Regions from separate parts of the Homo sapiens genome. Here regions 2 and 3 are each linked to region 1. Evidence: promoter capture Hi-C in 16 types of primary human blood cells and fetal thymus (Javierre and others, 2016). All regions are on one chromosome and are shown on one strand. The core of a region is centred on a gene start or on the middle of the fragment in contact, and the rest is flanking DNA. Distances in the headings are between cores, read along the strand shown.

The links. Contacts are between HindIII fragments. The CHiCAGO score rates a contact against its expected background, and 5 or more counts as called.
Region 2: a contact is called between a fragment that was not itself captured here and the fragment with the promoter of LEPR in region 1, in 3 of 17 cell types (fetal thymus, total CD4 T cells and non-activated CD4 T cells). The highest score is 6.8, in fetal thymus.
Region 3: a fragment that was not itself captured here is called in contact with the fragment with the promoter of LEPR in region 1 in 1 of 17 cell types (activated CD4 T cells); the score reaches 7.2 in activated CD4 T cells.

Annotation. Positions count from the first base shown.
Region 1 is chr1:65,419,371-65,422,070 of GRCh38, forward strand. It overlaps LEPR (leptin receptor), which reads left to right and starts at 1,298. Exons shown (of 20, transcript NM_002303.6): 1 at 1,298-1,370. LEPROT (leptin receptor overlapping transcript) reads left to right here and starts at 1,298. Exons shown (of 4, transcript NM_017526.5): 1 at 1,298-1,370. The coding sequence starts at 1,355. RefSeq lists enhancers at 612-1,144, 1,145-1,678, 1,752-1,801 and silencers at 792-861, 882-1,381. The HindIII fragment of the contact is 9,332 bases long and covers 242-2,700 here.
Region 2 is chr1:66,447,274-66,449,973 of GRCh38, forward strand. No RefSeq gene overlaps it. Among named protein-coding and RNA genes, the nearest start is that of SGIP1, 86 kb to the right of the region's middle. The HindIII fragment of the contact is 4,206 bases long and covers 1-2,700 here.
Region 3 is chr1:63,515,784-63,518,483 of GRCh38, forward strand. All of the region lies in intron 1 of ITGB3BP (integrin subunit beta 3 binding protein), which reads right to left. It overlaps LOC102724319 (a long non-coding RNA gene), which reads left to right. Exons shown (of 3, transcript XR_426701.4): 3 at 1,973-2,011. Among named protein-coding and RNA genes, the nearest start is that of ITGB3BP, 6.1 kb to the right of the region's middle. The HindIII fragment of the contact is 5,782 bases long and covers 1-2,700 here.

The DNA of each region.
Region 1 (2,700 bases), core at 48-2,547:
CTTTCTGCACCTCTTTCCTTAAATGTAAGTTGAAGCATTTGGACCAGACTGTTTCAATGATCTTCTAGATTGCTTTTGCCAAAACAGAACTCTCCATTCCTGTAAGATAAGTACACAATGGCTCTCAGAGATCTAAAAACTGGCCTTGGTTACCTGCAAACTTTGAGGCCCCAAGGCACAAAAATAATAGCTTTTTTTTTTTATTTTTTTTTTTAAGGTTCATGAAAGCTTCGGACACAAAAGCTTATATGGTCTTCGTCTCTATAAATAAACCAGGGAGTAAAGAAAAACCCCGCTAGTTTCAGTAAAGCGTTGCTATTAAGCAAAGCAAACCTATGCAAATATCAAGTTCTTAATGAGGAGTGTTTCCTAAGGGGCCTGTCCTCTGGTACCCCGCCTCTCCTCTGCCACAGTCATGTGAAGGCAGACAGGCACACACTCGCACACTAGCACGCACTTGGGAGCTCAGGGAACATAACACTGGTTAGTGAGTCGGTGTCCCTCTCCCATCGATTGCAACTTTTCCCCTCCTTCCCTCTCCTGCCTCTCCCCACTTTCTACATCTCCGTTCTCAGGAAGGCTCAGGGAGGATCCCCCGCTGCGTGCACTGCGTTCTGAGAGGCCGGGGAGAGACTCTGGGCCCGCGGTCGGGGCGGAGCCAAGGTCCCAACCCACATTGAACGGGCTTGAGGATTACTTGGAGGGCTCAGGATCTAGGAGGAGGGCCCAGGGCACTGGGTTGGGGTTACTCTGGGAAAGCTCTGTGGGACCAGGTGGGACCTTAGGGCTGGAGATGGACTCTGCGAGCTGGGGGCGGAGTTCTAGACTGGCAGGAGCGGAGTTCTGGGTGGCGGGGGCGGGGTCGGGACCAGCAGGGACGGCCTCTGAGAGTTGGGGGCGGAATTCTGGGCCGGTGAGGGCTGGGGCGGGACCAGCAGGGGAGGCCTCCGCGAGCTAGGGGAGGAGCTCTGCATTGTCTGGGGCGGGGCTTCGAGTAGCGGTAGCGAGGTCTGGAGCCGCAGGCGCTGCCTCCGCGAGGTAGGGGAGGAGCTCTGTACTGTCAGGGGCGGGGCTCTGAGTAGCGAGGCCGGGTCTGAACTATCAGGCGCGGCCTCTGCGAGCTGGGGGCGGGGTTCTGCACCGGCGGGGGCGGGGTTGTGAGTGGTGGGGGCGGGGTCTGGAGCAGCAGGCGCCGCGTTTGCGAGCTAAGGTCGGAGTTCTGCACCGGCGGGGGCGGGGCTCTGCGTGGCCGGGGCGGGCTCGGGATCCGCGGGGCGACTCCCGGTCTGGCTTGGGCAGGCTGCCCGGGCCGTGGCAGGAAGCCGGAAGCAGCCGCGGCCCCAGTTCGGGAGACATGGCGGGCGTTAAAGGTACATCGCGGTCCCCGGCTCGCTTGTCGTGTGGTGGGGTTGCCACCTCCGTTCCGGTCAAGCCTGGGGCTGCGCCTTCCGCGCGCCGTTGGGGAACGGCCTCACCACCCTTCCCGCCTCTCCGGTTCGGGAGGCGATCGACCGCTCCCTTCGTCCCTTGGGGTGTGGGTGGAGCGGCGTTTCGGGGGAGCCTTGGCCCTTTTTGCAAGGCCGCTGGCCTTCCTGCTCTCCAGTGGCGGCACCAGACCCCTCCCCAGCCTGAGCCCTCGGCGAGAGCGGCGCCCTCCACCTCTCCTGAGTTTTTAAACAAGGTTTCCACTTCTTGACGCCACCCTAACGCCTTTCTTCTGGTTTTCTGCCCCTCCGCAGTTTCCTATTTGCCACAAAGGACCCTTTGTCTCCAGCGTTCTTAGCATTGGGAAACTTAATCCTCTTTTTCCTAATGATTTTTCCAACTGGGCAGAGTTGACCGCGGGCGGGTGTCAATGGAAAGCACCCAGAAAGACGGTGTTTCTCGCAGTCGTGGAGAGTAGATTACGTGTAATTTTAATACTGCTTTCTTCGGTGTTTTCTCTGTTTATGGACAGAGAAGAAACCAGTGTGTGTGTAGTATGTGTTTTTTGCATGGGGCAGTTGGTAAAAACACCGCGTCCCTTATCTGTATGGCTTCAGAGCAATGCGAGACGGAAAAGGTTTTTTGCAAGGCTTCCTGTATTTTGGTAGGAAAACATTCCATTTCTAATCTGTCGAATAGAGTAGCATGACTTGTTTTTATATTGGCTTTTATATCATCCTTGAAATTTGCACCCAAAGATATCCCCAGTTAACATCTGCTATAAACATGTAGATAGTATATATACGAGTACGCCTCTGTTCACTATGAATTTATCCGAGTATGTGAGCTGTTAGCAGCAGACATTTTATCGTTATTTCTGGCTGACTTTTATACTTAATATCAGTTTAGTAAACATGGTTTACTTGGAGAGTGTCGACTGTGTTATATATCCATTTGAAGCCAATGCCGAAAACAGATGAAAAGTAGTGTCTCAGTACTACACATGATCAGAAACTACCAAATCATGATCACGTTTATGTGTGAATGTGTTAGAAAATTGTGATGTAGTGAAAAAAAAGGAAGTCTGAAATGGAAACGGACTAAGGGAAGGAAGCATTTTACAGATTGTTCAACTTTTATTGAGGAACTACTGTATGCCAGAGACTTAGGATACAAAGATAAATGAGAAGTTATTGGTGGGTGACAGAGCTGGAAATAATTATATTACTATGTCAGTGTTTATGTTGGGCTCAGATGCGGTGGGAGAACAGATGG
Region 2 (2,700 bases), core at 30-2,529, 1.0 Mb after region 1:
TAAGTAAATAATAACAGAAGCAATGAACTACAACCTGAGCAGGCAGCCGTAGCAGTAAGCAAGTGAGCAGAGGAGGGAGTTATATGGTGGGATTGTCTGGAAATAAATACTTACATTGCTGCAATCAGCACCTCCAATATAGGTTATTGGATTCTTACAGATTGTATTCCATAAAATATAGCTCATAACGAAAACAGAAAAACCAAAACCAAAGAACACACAAGGAGCACATGAGAGACAGCAGAAATAATACATGAAAGATTAGACTTTCAAAGACCAGATATTGGAGTGATCCGAAAAAGAATGTGAAATGCAAACCAAAAATAAAATTCTAAGTCCCCCCAACCAACTCAATGGACCCCTCCTGTCAGCCAAGGGGATTCCAAAGAAACATAAAATACTAGTTCCAGCCATGATGCGAAGGGCAGGGGAATTGGACATGCCTCATTACACCCTCCTCTCTTTGGAATTCAGGCACAACTGTCCAGCATTAAAATTAAAACAGAGATCTCAAGACTGACAAAACAGACTCTGGTAACATTAAGATACCAACTTCCAACCTGACTCAAGCATAGCATCACATGACAGATAGCAGGGCCTGAAAGAAACAAAAGTATTTTACCCCAAATTATAATTCTTTGCCATATTTTGAAATGGCCCTGCAAAGCTGTCTCCTGTGGGGAAAATTTACATTCTGCAGAGAATCCCCTTCCCTTTCCAGGTATTTTTCTGACCCTGAAGGGATTAGATGAGAGTTTAGCATTTTTAAAGGTATGAATAGGAAATATTAGAATATTAGCCATTTATTACTTCTAAGAGCAGCTGCCTATGAGACTTCACCTACATAATAAGAACTGTGGTCTCCACATCACCTTACGTTAACCCAGACACTCCTTTCTGTTGATTCCAGGTCTTTAGATAATAACTAACTCTTTCAACAAATTGTCAATCAGAAAATCTTTGAATTCATCTATGACCTGTAAGCCCCCACTTCAAGTTGTCTCACCTTTCCAGACCAAAGCAATGTATACCTCATATGTATTGATTGATGTCCTGTGTCTCCCTAAAATGTATAAAACCAACCTGTAACCCAACCACATTGGGCACATGTTCTCAGGACCTCCTGAGGCTGTATCATGGGTCATGGTCTTTGCATTTGACTTAGAAGAAATCTCTTCAAATATTTTACAGAGTTTGGCTTTTTGTCAACAGAAACAACCATGTGTAAAAGGTCAAAAGAAATGGAAAAGGAAATTTTAAAAAAGCAAGAAAAACAGAATGTGAAAACTGGGCTGGGCGCAGTGGCTCATGTCTGTAATTCCAGCACTCTGGGAGGCCAAGGTGGGAGGCCTTGAGCCCAGAAGTTTGAGACCAGCCTAGGCAACATGGTGAGACCCCCATCTCTACAAAAAAAACACATTCAAAAAATAAATACAAAAGTTTAAAAACCAATATGGCAGATTTTAGAAAGAACTAAATAAAACTCGTAGATTTCAAATACACACCCGGATCGCAATGGCTGAATGAAACAGCAAATTAAACAAAGATGAAAAGACTATTAGAGAGTTGGAAAATATAACTTGAATAAATTACCTATAACACAGCCCAGAGATATAAAAGGATAGTATATCCAAACAGATGATCAAGATACATAGATGAGATGATGGAAGCAAATTCTAACGCAACTAATTTGGAGTTACAGGAGTAAAAGTTGGTGCACAAGCAGGAGGAGGGCTTGCAAAGCAGCAGTTAGGAAGGTAGGGCGAGATGGTGAGCTGAAATGATCATGGTGGTTATGACGATGATAAAAAAACTGAGGATTCTGAGGTTAATAGCCATTTTCACTATTTTTAAAGCACATCCCACAAGGAGTAGAGCTGATCAAATGATAAAATGAAAGAAAATACACAAGAGAGTTGCTGCTATTTTTAAACGATGAAACTGAATGAAATGGTGTTTGGGAGGAAGCAAAAACAAACTTAAAAATATACAATCCATAGTGATGGACTTGGGAACATAGGATCAAGAATGCTTTGTACACTTTCTTCTTTGTTTTCTAAAATTTCTACAATAAATAGGTAGACAGGGTCTATTGCTTAGGATTGCAAGCTGTATTAGGTTTGCATGGGAAGAAAAAAATGATTTCTCTGTACCCTTCAGGTTCTTTGGCTGAGCCATGAATTAAATTGACATAAGGCATATTAACAGGTGAAAAATAATTTGAATTGTGTATGTATGCACAGGAGTCCCACAAAAATATGAGACTCAAAGAAGAGCTGAATGATTGATGCTTATATATTATGGAATCCTGAGCTACAGACAGAAAGAGGGGTTTGGGGCTCCTAAGGAGTAGTGGGGACAAGTTATGGAAGGATGAGGGGGGGGAAATGTACAGTGAATAAATGTGGTCTCATTATACAGATAAGGATCTCTCAGGTGGTAAGAGTTGTCTCAGGAGCAGCTCTTTCCTTAATACAGATATCTTTATTAATAAAAATTTTCCTTAGAGATGCACATTTATTTTACAAAAGGGTAGCTATTCAGAGCGCTCTTGCATCTAGTTTCTCAAAATAATCTGCTAATAAATAGCATGCCCAAGAGGAATATTTAGGGGTGATTTGTCCTGAGCTCCAACAGTTTTTTAGAGCTACTGTAACAAAATACCACAAACTGGGTGGCTTAGAACCACGGGCATATTTA
Region 3 (2,700 bases), core at 162-2,661, 1.9 Mb before region 1:
CCACTGCACTCCAGTCTGGACAACAGAGCAAGACTCCAACTTAAAAAAAAAAAAAAAAAAAAAAAAAAAAGAACTACCCAGCAACCACCACACTACTGGGTATCTATCAAAGGAAAATAAATCATTATATCAAAAAGACAAATGTACTTGTACATTTATTGTAGCACTATTCACAACAGCAAAGTCATGGAATCATCTTGTGTCCATCAATGGATGACTGGATAAAGAAATGTGGTATATATACACCATGGAACACTATGCAGCCATAAAAAAGAATGATACCGTGTTGTTCTGCAACAACATGAATAGAGCTGGAAATCATTATCTTAACTGGAATAACTCAGAAGCAGAAAATTAGGCCAGGCATGGTGGCTCACATCTGTAATCCCAACACTTTGGGAGGCTGAGCTGAGCAGATTGCTTGAGTCCAGAGTGAGCCTGGGAGGCAGAGGTTGTGGTGAGCAAACTGCACCACTGCACTCTAGCCTGGGTGACAGAGCAAGACCATGTCTCAAAAAAAAAAAAAAAAAAAAAGAGGAGAGGGGAGGGGAAGGGAAGCGGAGCGGGGGAAGGTGGGGGAGAAGGGGGGGGGAAGGGAAAAGGAAAGAAAAGAAAGAAAACAAGAGAAAAAAGAGGAAAGGAAAGCAAAGAAAATCAACTGGGTGTGGCAGTGCTCACACCTGTGATCTCAGCATTTTAGGAGGCTAAGGCATGAGGATTGTTTGAGATCAACATGGGCAACACAATGAGACTCTGTCTTTACAAAAAAATTAAAAATTAGGCCAGTGTGGTGGTGTACACCTGTAGTCCCAGCTACTTGGAAGGCTGAGGCAGGAGGATCACTTGAGCCCAGGAGGTGAAGGTTGCAGTGAGCCATGTTCATGCCACTGCAGTCCAGCCTGGGTGACAGAGTAAGACCTTGTTTCATGAAAAAAAAAAAAAAAGAAAAAAGAAAAAAAAAGAAAAGCAAATACCACATGTTCTCATCTATTAGTGGGAGCTAAACAATGGGTACATATGAACATACAGAGGGAAATAATAGACACTGAGACTTCAAAAGGAGGAAGTATGGGAGGAAGGTGAGGGTTGAAAAATTATCTTTCGGGTACAATGTTCACTATTTGTGTGATGGGCACCTACGAGCTCAAACCTCACCATTATGCAATATATCCTTGTAACAAATCTGCACATATACACCCTGAGTCTATAAAAAATAAAAACAAATAAGTTAGGTATAAATGATCATACTCAAAAAAAGAAAGTACAAAGAAGGAAAATTAGATTACATGAAAAATGAAATATAAAACAGAAAAGATAAAGATAATACCAAATACTATTATACAAGTTTTCATCCACTTAACTTTTTTTAAAAAAGATCCATTTTAAACAGTAGAAATAAAAAAAGAGCAAAACTTAAAAAGAAATGTTTGTTAGGATTATGACAGGGATTGCATTAAATCTAAACATTGGTGAGAACTAACATTTTAATAATACCACATTTATCACTTAAAAATACTCTCACCAGCATGGCACATGTATATATATGTAACTAACCTGCACATTGTGCACATGTACCCTAAAACTTAAAGTATAATAATAAAAAAATAAAAATAAATAAAAATAAATAAAAAATAAATAAAAATACTCTCATTTATCTTCATCTTTAATTTCTCTAAGGAACATTTTGTAATTTTCACTGTAGAGGTCTTGCATGTCTTATGCTAAATTATTATATGTTTTTATGTAATTATAAATGAAAAATCTTAAACTTCAATTTCCAGGTGTTTATTCCTGAAATATAGAAATATATTGATCTTTGTACACTGATTTTGCATCCTACATCCTTGCTAAATTGTTCTGAAAATTGTTTTATAGATTTTTTAGGATTTTCTTCATACATGATGTCATTGTTGAATCATTAATTTTACTTTTTCCTTTTTTGTTGTTGTTGTTTTTGTTTGTCTTGAGACAGGGTCATCCAGGCTGGAATGCAAGTGACACAATCACAGCTCACTGCAGCCTTGACTTCCTCGGCTCAAGTGATCCTCCTGCCTCAGCCTCCCAAGTAGCTGGGACTACAGGCACGTAACGTCACACCTTGTTAATTTTCATATTTTTTCGTAGAGACAGCGTTTTGCCATATTGCCCAGGCTAATCTTGAACTACTGGGCTCAAGCAATCTGCCTGTCTCAGCCTCCCAAAGTGATGGGATTACCGGCATGAGCCACTGGGCCTGGCCCCACTTTTTCCTTTTTAACACTATGGGTGTTTTTCTGTGTGTGCTTTTTTGAATAGAAGTGGTGAGAGGGCACGTTCTTGCCTTTTTCCTAATCTTAAAAAAGTTTTCGATACTAAATATATTATCTATAGGTTTTTCAAAGAAATGAGAAGTTGCCTCCTATTCCTAGTTTGCTGAGGGTTTTATTTTCTCACGAATGGGTATGTTCTCTGTACAATTAACCAATGAAATCGTCTGGGTCTTTGTGGGAAGATTCTTAGTAACAAATTCTATTTCCTTAATTATGCAGATTTTCTGTATCATCTTATGCCATCATGCTAAGTTGTATTTTTCAAGGAATTTGTCAATTTTGTATAAGTTGTCAAGTTTACTGGAATAAAGGCTTTAATGATATTACCTCTTTCAATATCTATAGCATCTTTAGTGGTATTCTGCTCTTTCATTTTGGATATTGATAGTTT